Linked DNA regions of Homo sapiens: region 1 is linked to region 2. The links are contacts of gene promoters, found by promoter capture Hi-C in blood cells and fetal thymus (Javierre and others, 2016). All regions are on one chromosome and are shown on one strand. Each heading gives the region's core, a stretch centred on a gene start or on the middle of the fragment in contact. The rest is flanking DNA. Distances are from core to core; before and after follow the strand shown.

Region 1 (5,722 bases), core at 834-3,333, 770 kb after region 2:
CTTTTCACAGAAACAATTGATGTATACAGTGATCAAGTTCTTGGACCTACTCTTTAAAGCTTATTTCACTCATAATATTATAAGGTTATTTTAACAGTCATATTTAAAGGGGAAATAATAGAAATGTAAACCCATAAAGATAATGGACAAAAATGTTTTGAAAATATTTGAGAATTTTTTTTCAATATTCAATATTTGAGAATAGAGGTCAGGGGCCTCTTTTAAACAAAACTTAAAAGGCACAAACAATAAGGCAAAAATATATATTAATTGAAAACATCAAAATAGGACTTCTGTTCATGAGAGACAGCAAACACAAAGACCAGATGATAGATTGGGAGAAGCTATTTGGAATGTTTCTAGCCAATGTATCTAGAATAAGCAAAGGATTCCTCTGAATCAATAAGAAAAAAAAAAGCTCAATTACAAAATGAGCAGATTATGAATAGGTAATTTTTAGAAAAGGAAACTCAAAAACAGAGCCAGCATGTAAAGAAATGCCCAAATAATTGGTAATTAGGTAAATGCAAGTTAAAACAGTGAGTTATCGGTTTGCACCTTTCAGGCTGGCAGAATTTAGACAGGATCATAGGCATAGATTTGCCTTCACGTGCTGCCAGTGGGAGTGCAGACCATTATGAGGAGCAATTTAGTCCAACAGATAAACATTCCCTGTGACATGCCAATTCTGCTCCTGGATTTACACCCAGGAAATTTCTCACTTGGGCCTTAAGGGACCATGTATGAGGATATTCACTAGAGCATTACTTGTGGTGGGGAGTTGGAGGAAATCTGGTTGTTCACTATGGAGGGGTGGATAAAGAATTTGGGATGAGTAGAAACCATGGAGTACTAGGTAGCAGGTAAGAGGCAACAAATTAAATGAACACATAGCGAAGTGTATGGATCTTAAAAACAGAATGCTTAATAAAAAAAAGAAACAGAATAAAATAAGAAATAATTATCACTTAGATAAATTAGAAACAATGTGTACCAAACAACCATCTTCACTGTGCAAAAAATATTCACATAAAAATATATACGTTAATGGTTGCCTATGGAAGGGGAGAAGAATGGCAGTGGAAGAGAGGATGAAGAGGATTCAACAAGAAAGGACAGTGTGGTATAGGGGGAAGAGCACAGGCTTTGTTGTCAGCCTGCCTGGATTAGAGCCTTAGCTTCACTGCTTACTAGCTGTGGATCCTGAGCAAATCATTTGATGACTCTTAAGCTTCTTCGTGTGTAAAATATAGACCATGTTGTCCATCTTACAGTGCCATAGTGAGGTTTAAAACACATAATCCAAGTACGGCACTTAGCTCAGTGCTTAATATATAATTAGTATTCAATAAATGTTAGCAATAATTGCGAAAGAACCCTGGCCTCATGATGCAGATCAATAGTGGGAACAGAAAGCATTGAGAGTAGGAAATAAGGGTTGGGAAAAAGAAAGGATATGAGAGAACTGATTAAGGAACAGGAGGAGCATGGTGATGGTTAATTTTTCCATCTTTCCCATAGGAATCTCTCAGATGGCATCAGCATAGTCTTCTCTCCTTTACTCTCATTTTTTCCCCTTGTTTTCTCTTCTATTTTCCTAGTGCTACAGAAGTTCTCACTTTTTGTCACCAGGTGCTAGGGGGCAGAGTGCGGTTCATCTAAGGAGTAGAGAAGGGGAGGATCCGGGGTCTGCATGAGGAGGAAGAAGGAAGTGGGTCCATTGACTATTTCTGTATACAAACCACCCCAATATTCAGTGGCTTAAAGAGATAATTATTTATTATTCCTCACAAGTCTAGGGATTAGAACATCTAGGCTAGATTTGTCTGGGGGTGGCTTTGCCCCACATGTCTCTCATTTTCTTCCTGGAACTAGCAGACTAGAATGTCTTCCAGGTGATGACACGGCACAGAATAGTCAAGCCCAGCAGCACAAGGACTTCTGGAGTCTCTGCTATGTCACATTTGCTAACATCCCATCAGCCAAAGTAAGTCATGGCTGGACCATATACCCCATACACAGGGGAAAAGCACCACAAAATGACACAACAAAGGACATGGGTACTGGGAAGGGTGTAGAATTGGGGCCACTCATGCAATTCACACAAGGAGTCACATACTTCTCATGATTGACTAGAAAAAGTGAACATAGCCTAGCTGAGGAAGCAGGGAAACTAAATGCTGGATGATGCAAAAAGCAGGTCTAAGCAAGTTCTCTCTGTCTCTCTGTCTGTCTGTCTGTCTCTCTCTCTGTCTCTCTTTCTCTCCCCCAACCCCCAACACCACCACACACACACACACACACAGAGAGAAACACCCACATATATTAATGGAAGAAGCCCCAGTGACTAGTGTAGTATTAGTTTTTTGGTGTTTGTTTGTTGTTTGTTTCTTTGTTTGTTTGTTTGTTTGTTTTGAGATGGAGTTTCACTCTTGTTGCCCAGGCTGGAGTGCAATGGCACAATCTTGGCTCACCACAACCTCTGCCTCCTGGGTTCAAGCGATTATCCTGCCTCAACCTCCTGAGTAGCTGGGATTATAGGCATGCGCCACCACGCCCGGTTAATTTTGTATTTTTAGTAGAGACAGGGTTTCTCCATGTTGGTCAGGCTGGTCTTGAATTCCTGACCTCAGGTGATCCACCTGCCTTGGCCTCCCAAAGTGCTGGGATTACAGGTGTGAGCCACCACACCCAGCCTAGTATTAGTTTTAATAAGCTAGTTGGTAACTAAGGATAAATAAGTCTTGCTATGGGGCCAGGGGTTGGGATGGGGAGTGGGGATGGAGATCTGTCCTTAAGGAAGTAGACAGCTGGATAAATAGTGCTGTTTGGGGACATTGAAAAACACATGCGTGCACACACTCACACTCCACACACTTTCTTCAATCCAAAGCAAATGAGAAGTAAGGACTGAGATTAGTTTACAAGTTTTTATTAAGCTTGTTCCTAATTTTTAACTAGACACACCTTGCACTGAACCTTTGATAGCTTATTATTATAGCCTAATGTTGATGTTCATACTAATATCAACAGCAAGAGTCTGGCATCTATAAAATATAAATACAAAATTGTCAGTTACAATGAAATGAAATTAATATCCAGTCTCTTTTTAGACAAATCTTTTCTCCTAGGATGGGGGAGGATATACTTAAACAATCTGAAATGTGTATCTATATTACATTTTAAGCACGACAATTTTATTTTTATTTATTTATTTATTTTTAGACAGTCTCACTCTGTCACTCAGGCTGAAGTGCAGTGGTGCCCTCTCAGCTCACTGCAACCTCCACCTCCCAGGTTCAAGTGATTCTCGTACCTCAGCCTCCCAAGAAGATGGGATTACAGGCATGCTCCACCACACCTGGCTAATTTTTATATTTTTAGTAGAGATGGGGTTTCACCATGTTGACTAGGCTGGTCTCAAACTCCTGACCTCAATTGATCCACCCACTTCGGCCTCCCAAAATGCTGGGATTACAGGCATCAGCCACTATGCCCAGCCCACAGTGTTACCTTTTAAAGAAGCATTTATTCATTCAGAAAAGCATTATTTGCTTTGAATATTAAGCAGAGATTCTGACAACTTTTTTCACTACTGTGTGCGTAAAATATCTCTTTCACTGATGCTAAAATTAAATTTAAATGTGCCTTTAATATTTTTTAAATGTAACATTGTTGTACCATAGGCCTAGTACCTAGAATGGTGCCCTACAAGTGAGAAAAAAGAAAGTGATAGGGTACCCCAAAATAAAGCTGCACACCTACAACCATCTGATCTTCAACAAAGTAGACAAAAATAAGCAATGAAGAAATGACTCCCTATTTAATAAATAGTGCTGGGATAGCTGGCTAGCAATATGCGGAAGAATCAAACTGGACCCTTATCTTCCACCATATACAAAAATTAATGCAAGGTGGATTAAAGATTTAATTGTAAGGCCTCAAACTATAAAATCTTAAAAGGAAACCTAGGAAATACCATCTGGACATCAGCCTTGGGACATAATTTATAACTAAGTCCTCAAAAGCAATTGCAACAAAAAACAAAAACTGACAAGTGAGACCTAATTAAACTAAAGAACTTTTGCACAGCAAAAGAAACTATCAACAGAATAAACAGACAACCTACAGAATGGGAGAAAATACTTGCAAACTATGCATCCAACAAAGGTTTAATATCCAGAATCCATAAGGCACTTAAACAACTCAACAAACAAAAAACAAATAACTTCATTTAAAAAAAGACATGAACAGACACTTCTCAAAAGAAGACATACAAGTAGACAAAAAACATAGGAAAAAAATACTTACCATCACTAATCATCAGAAAAATGCAAATCTAAACCATAATGAGATATCATCTCACACCAGTCCAAATGGCCATTAATAAAAAGACAAAAAACAACAGAAGCTGGCAAGGCTGTGGAGAAAAAGGAACACTTATACACTTTTGGTGGGAAAGTAAATTAGTTCAGCCACTGTGGAAAGCAGTTTGGAGATTTCTCAAAGAACTAAAAATAGAACTACCATATGACCCAACAATTCCATTACTGGTTAGATACCCAGAGGAAAATAAATTGTTCTACAAAAAAGACATGTGCACTTGTATGTTCATTGCAGCACTATTCACAATAGCAAAGACATGAAATCAACCTAGGTGCCTGTCAGCAGTGAATTGGATAAAGAAAATGTGGTACATATACACCATGGAATACTACACAGCCATAATAGAAGAATGAAATCATGTTCTTTGCAGCAACATGGATCCAGCTGGAGGCCATCATCCTAAGCGAATTAACAGAGGAACAAAAAACCAAATACCACATGTCCTCACTTGCAAATGAGAGGTATATATAGACATAAACATGGGAACAATGGACACTGGGGACTCCTGGAGGAGGGAAAGAAGTGGCAGGCAAAGGGTTGAAAAACTACTTATTGGGTACTATACTCACTACCTGGGTAATCCGCTAGTAGGGATCATTTGTTCCCCAAACCTCAGTATCACATAATATACCCATGTAACAAACCTGCACATGTACCCCCGAATCTAAAATAAAAGTTGCAATTATTAAAATAAAATAAAAATAAAGCTAGCAATGAGCCCTATACATGAAAATCAATAAAACATAATCATGGCTGTATAGAGGGGCTTGTCATTTATAGCAATTTTAGTTCAAGCTGGAATAGGACCGTGTCTCTTTCAGTTCTACCCACTGTGGCTAGCATAGTGCCTGGCATCAAGCAGGTGTCCTATATTTATTTGAATGTAATTAACTGGGAGCTTTCTGCACCCCACCAAAAATATATAAATAAATAAAACTGAAGTGAAAGAATGATATTACTCATGCAATTTTTCAGGCATAGAGTCATCTGTCTACCATCTGGCCCATTCCTCATGTGACTAGTTGTTTTTCTCAGGGAAGCGTCACTCAAACAAGCTACGAGATAGATGCATGTAATCAGTCCTAGGTACACACAAGGAGGGGCTTCTTTCTGTCATTAGAATGCTCTCTGAGTCTCCCATAGGGTTGGGTTCTTAAAAGAAGACGAAATATTTAAAACACAGAGAACCAAATCCTCGTAACCCTAAAGTCTTTTTAAAGATTAGAGCAGGTCTGTGTTGTCTTGAATAATTTAAGTTGTGCAAATAAGAAATTGTCATTTGAGACATCTCAACTCAGGTAATTTCACAAATGTTTCTCTCTGTAATATACTTGAC
Region 2 (4,974 bases), core at 1,797-4,296:
CAATGCATTCTTTTAGGTAAAAAAAAAAAAAAAAAAAAAAAGTCACAACTATCAGCTCTACACCTAAACATGGTTCATTCAAATGGTGACTTCAATGTAAATCATAAATGTGACTGATTTTTTCTGATATAACTGTTACACTTTAAAGATCCAGAAGGTTAGAAATAAAGTCTCAAGCTAACATTTTACACATTTCTTGTAAGTTTAAGAAGACTTCTTGGGCAAAAGACCTTTCATTTTGGTCACATATCAAAATGGGCCAACCACAAAAGTACATGAGATTAAGTTTTCCTATTGGCAGTTCAATTCTAACAGAAGCTGTGTGTGTGTGTGTGTGTGTGTGTGTGTGTGTGTGTGTGTGTCTGAATTTTTTAAATTAATTTTCAAAAGCCTAAAAGGAAAAGAGACATACATAAGCATCACTTCATTTTTAAACATGTATTCTACCTGTAGAACATTTTACAAAAAAAAAAAAAAAAACTCTTACTTTAAGGCCTATAGCTACAGCTAGTTCCAAAATCTAAATGTTTAATAAAATAGATAACAGAAATTTAAAATCTGACACAATTCTCAAAGCTTATAATAATTTGACCTTTCATAACTTACATAATACAATTTCTCTACCTTTTCTGGTGGTGGAAAAGAGGTGGAAATTGAGATTCTCCTCCGCAATGTCCAACTTGAAGTATTTACACTTTATTTCTACTCTATGTTATCCATTCCTTTTCAGACTTAGATATGTGATTATGGTGAGTCTTAAGGTGACTTGCATTTGCTATTCAAGGGTGCAAGGGAGCAAAACCAAAGGGTGTATGATATTTTGGTGTTTTTAGTTAAGTTTTCAATATCGAGACCTTCCAAAGGATGTGGAAAACAGAAAAAATAATAATAAAGCTTTGTATCATCACATGGTCTTCCATCATAACCTGACAGTCACGCCTTTGAGACCAGCCTCACTCACTTACCCACCGTTCTCACTGAGAGATCATACCGGGCAAGAACTTTTGCTAAGAGTCGCACGGAGCAGCAGGCTGTCAATCAGGCTTTGGGTTAGGTCTGGTTGCCATCACAGTAGCTGCTCCTTCCACTTAAAGATTCTCATTATCTCAGAAAAGCACTAGATTGTTCTTGGGAAGAGGGCGTAGTAAGCACTTTTATCTAAAAAGGGACTAGTTACAGAACATTAATTTTCCAAAATTATTTCTAAAATTCCACCAAATTAAACTTCTGCTTTACAGACAAGGCTGCCACCATGCCACAAGGAAGTTGTAAAAGCACTGTTTAAAACCTCTAGGAGACGTTTATTTAGGCTAAATATTTTATAATAGATATCAAGGTTTTTTTAAAAACAGAAAAATCTTAAGGATTCTTACAATTTTTAAATGCTTGTCTATCTTAAGTGCTAGCACCCCGTAGATTATCTCCCGCCATGCCAATGATTGTTAGCCTATTAGAGATAGAAACTATTAACAGGAGCCTACTGGACAATGGTTTCTATTTGGTTGGGTATAAATATTTTGGGGTTGAAATTCTAATTAAATAGTGCCTGTCGCTGCTTAAAAGCTCTATAGGCATGAAATGTTCAGAAGTCCCAGAAGAAATACAGAAAAGAGACATTTTTTATTTTTCCACATACTCGATGTACTAGCTTAAAATACATGTACTACATAATATTATATTTCTTGGAGCTAAATTTTATTTCTTCTGTAATGTTTATTTTTGATGCAGGGCTGCATAATGATTCCATTTTTAAGATACCTCTAAATTATAAGGGATTCCAGCCTCTACCTGGAAATTAAAGCTGTGCAGATAAAATACAAAGTCATTAATAAACATCACAAAGATAATTCTAACAAGAAGCACCATGTAAAAGTAAGGCAGGAATCAGAAAAATCATCAATTACTGACATATTAAATCACACTTTCAAAAGAATAGGGAGCTGGAAGCAGCCGCTCCCTTTCAGGAGGGCTGTATGACACTGAATGAAATGCCAGGGACTCCTGGCTGGTGAGCAGCGGGAACTTTGCGGTCGAGCGGCGCGGGGCAGCCACAGACCTGGGCGCTTCAATCTGTCACCAGCCTGCCCGCAAAGCCCAGCGACAGCCCCCAACGCCCCCCCGGGGACCCATCTGGGGGGACCGGGAGCAGGACAAAGGTCTGAAATCCAAGTCCTAGGAGTAAAGAAACAAAATGCGCAGGTTCAATTTAAAGTGCCTGCGGTAAGTACGGGGAGTGAGGGGGAAAGACACCGGCCTCCAAGAATTCTCAGGCGTTTAGCACAAGCACCAGCTCATTACCAGGAGATGCGTTCGGGGAGTGGGGACATGGAGAATGAATCCCAACTTGTGACTCCATTCTCCACTAACTTTATTCTCGCTCCCTGGACCAAGCGCATCGCTGGGGCCAGGGTTGTCATGGTTCTTGTTTCCAAGGCCCCTTGGAAGAAGGAAAGGGATGAGAAAGGTGCGCTGGCGGGCGCACCCGGCGGCGGCGAGCGCGGAGGTGCTGCGGTACCTACCATGGTATTCTTGTCCCGGAACGTAGTAGGTGGGGTTGCCCGCAATATGCAGGGAAATGAGCACCTCGCCCTGCTCCCCATCCCCTTCCAGCTCCCCGTGGTGGGTGCACAGGAAAAAGAAGGGCGAAAAGCGGGGGTAATAGCCAGCCGCCGCGCGCGCCCTCAGCGTCGCCCCCAGCAACAGCGCTAGGAGGAAAGTCTGCCGGGCCCAGCCACTGCGCTCCATGCCGCCGCCGCCGCCGCCGCCGCCGCGCGCCCTACGCGCCGCTCGCTCATTCAGTTTTGGAGACGCCGGGACGGAGGAGCCACGCGGAGAGAAGGCGAGAAGAAGGCGGACGGGAGCGGAACGGGCTCGGGAGCGGGCCTGGGAGCGGGCCCCCGCCGAGAAGTTCCGCGGGAGACGGCGGCTCCCAAAGTTACTTTGGGCCGCGGGAGCGCGGGACCGGGGCTGCGGGCGCCGAGAGCGCGTCGTCTGCCGCCTCCGTGCGCCGCCGCCGCCTCTGCGCGACGCCCCTCGGCCAGGCCTGGGAAAGCGCCCGCCCCGCTCCACACCTTCTTAAAGCCCCGGGCGCCGCGTCCCCCCCGCCGCCGCCACACGTGTCCCGGCCGCTCCCCCGCCCCCGCGCGCCGCCCCGCCCGCCCCCCGCCCTCTCGGGCTGGCTCGGCGGCACCTCGCGCGGCGAGGGGCGCACGCGTCCCCGGAGTCCCCGGCCAGCGCCCGGTTCGCACCCGGGAGGACAGGGAGGGGCGCCCGCCGGGGAGCGGGACGGGGACGCTGTCGAGGACCGCTGAGCCCGCGACTCTTCTGCGAGGGACGTCAAAGCCCCGCAGAGGGCACCTCCCGTCCAGCTGTCTGAAGGGGAAGGCCAGCCCCTTTGGCCGTCAGTGTGCCCTGTTTTTCCTGGGAGGATGCGTGAGGGAAGGAGAGGGGCGGCAGGGACGGCCGCTGGCGCCGGTTTCTTTGTCTGAGCCGGCTGCGTCCCGCGCCCCTCGGGGCTCGCAGTCTGCCAGTCCGGGCGGCCCGCACTCGTTCTGGGAATCCGCCCGAGGCCGCGAACCGCTAGGGGCCCTCGCGCTCCCTTCCCACCCAGGCCCCCTGTCCCTCCCGCCGCGGCCGCCCGGCCCCTCGCGGCAGCGACAGAGCCTCATCTGTAGAGGATTTTAAAATGAGATTAAGCGAAAGTGGAATTGGCAGACTCGAGTGGTGCCTGGAAATGGTGATTTGTGCTGCTCGGTTGTGGGGAATTGTAAGGCAGGAAGGGCTGGCGGAGCTAAGATCCGACAGGCTCTCTTCGCCGGACTGTTCTGTTATTCATTGCTTCTGGGCTCTTCAGGCAGAGATGGGTGTTGTAATTTTTTAAATCAGTGTTTATTTCCTTTAAATGTCGGTTATGACCAATGGCCCTGAAATCGGGGGAGGGAAAAACGTTCAGGGGAGATGCTGGCAGCGGTGATTGAAGCGGGTGGTAATGAGCGGCTGCACATGAACTGCAGGGAAGTGAAATAATCCATAAGCACGTTTTTAACCGAGGACGGCTGGCAGGAGCCCTGCGGCATCCGGAGATGGGGGAGCGGGGTTGCCAGGTTTTAATGCCTCTCCCCACCCACCCTTGGCTTGCCACCAAGCCAGATAAACCCGCACGTACAGAAATGAGTAGATTATAAAATTGGAAGGGATAGTGCCTTTGCCTGCATTTGTGGGGCGAGGGGCGGTGAAAATCAGGGTCCAAGGGGAGACCTCTGTAATCACTTCGTTGCAAAAGGAAGAAATTGTTTTTCTTCCTCTTACTGAGACCGAATGACAGGTAGAAAGGGCCCATTTCTAGCTGGCTTCTTGTTTCCCTTACTTCAAAATCCCCAGAGGCTTAACTGCCATATAAATAATATACAGTGTATACATATATGTATGTGCATATATATATATATGATGTGGTAACAATTGCTACACTGTAGCTCTGCGGGGTGCAGGCTGTGGGGCTAGACGTACTTTAGCTTTTTAATCCTAACACCAACTGGAGAGGCAAAAAATATCCCTATTTCACAAGGGAGGAGGCACTCAGAAATGTTGATAACTTGCCCAAAGTCAGTGACAAAGGCTGGATGCAGGGCAGACTGGCTGGCCTCAGAGGCTCTTGTCCTGCACTGCCCTGCCACAGTCGACAGCCCTAGCTGGAGCAGGTGGTGTTGCCCCAAACAGAATTAGGAGATACTCGCCCACAGCTAACAAGGCTGTTACTGCCTTCCTGTCCAGTCATGTGAATATAGCCAAAGACAAAATTAATCACTTGTAGAAAGAATCCAAAACTATTTAATGTTTTTGGCTTACACTTTTAAAATGTTTAGTTACTATGCACTGAGCACCGTCCTAAGTACTATACATACTAACTCCCTTATTCCTCATAACAATACTGTGGGAAAAGTACCATTGATAGCTTCATTTTACTATGATGAAACA

What was found. Contacts are between HindIII fragments. The CHiCAGO score rates a contact against its expected background, and 5 or more counts as called.
Region 1: a contact is called between a fragment that was not itself captured here and the fragment with the promoter of RELN in region 2, in 1 of 17 cell types (total CD8 T cells). The highest score is 5.7, in total CD8 T cells.

Annotation. Positions count from the first base shown.
Region 1 is chr7:104,753,298-104,759,019 of GRCh38, forward strand. The region is part of intron 2 of LHFPL3 (LHFPL tetraspan subfamily member 3); the gene reads left to right. Among named protein-coding and RNA genes, the nearest start is that of LHFPL3-AS1, 48 kb to the right of the region's middle. The HindIII fragment of the contact is 1,708 bases long and covers 1,230-2,937 here.
Region 2 is chr7:103,986,612-103,991,585 of GRCh38, forward strand. It overlaps RELN (reelin), which reads right to left and starts at 3,047. Exons shown (of 65, transcript NM_005045.4): 1 at 2,520-3,047. The coding sequence starts at 2,745. The HindIII fragment of the contact is 6,896 bases long and covers 893-4,974 here.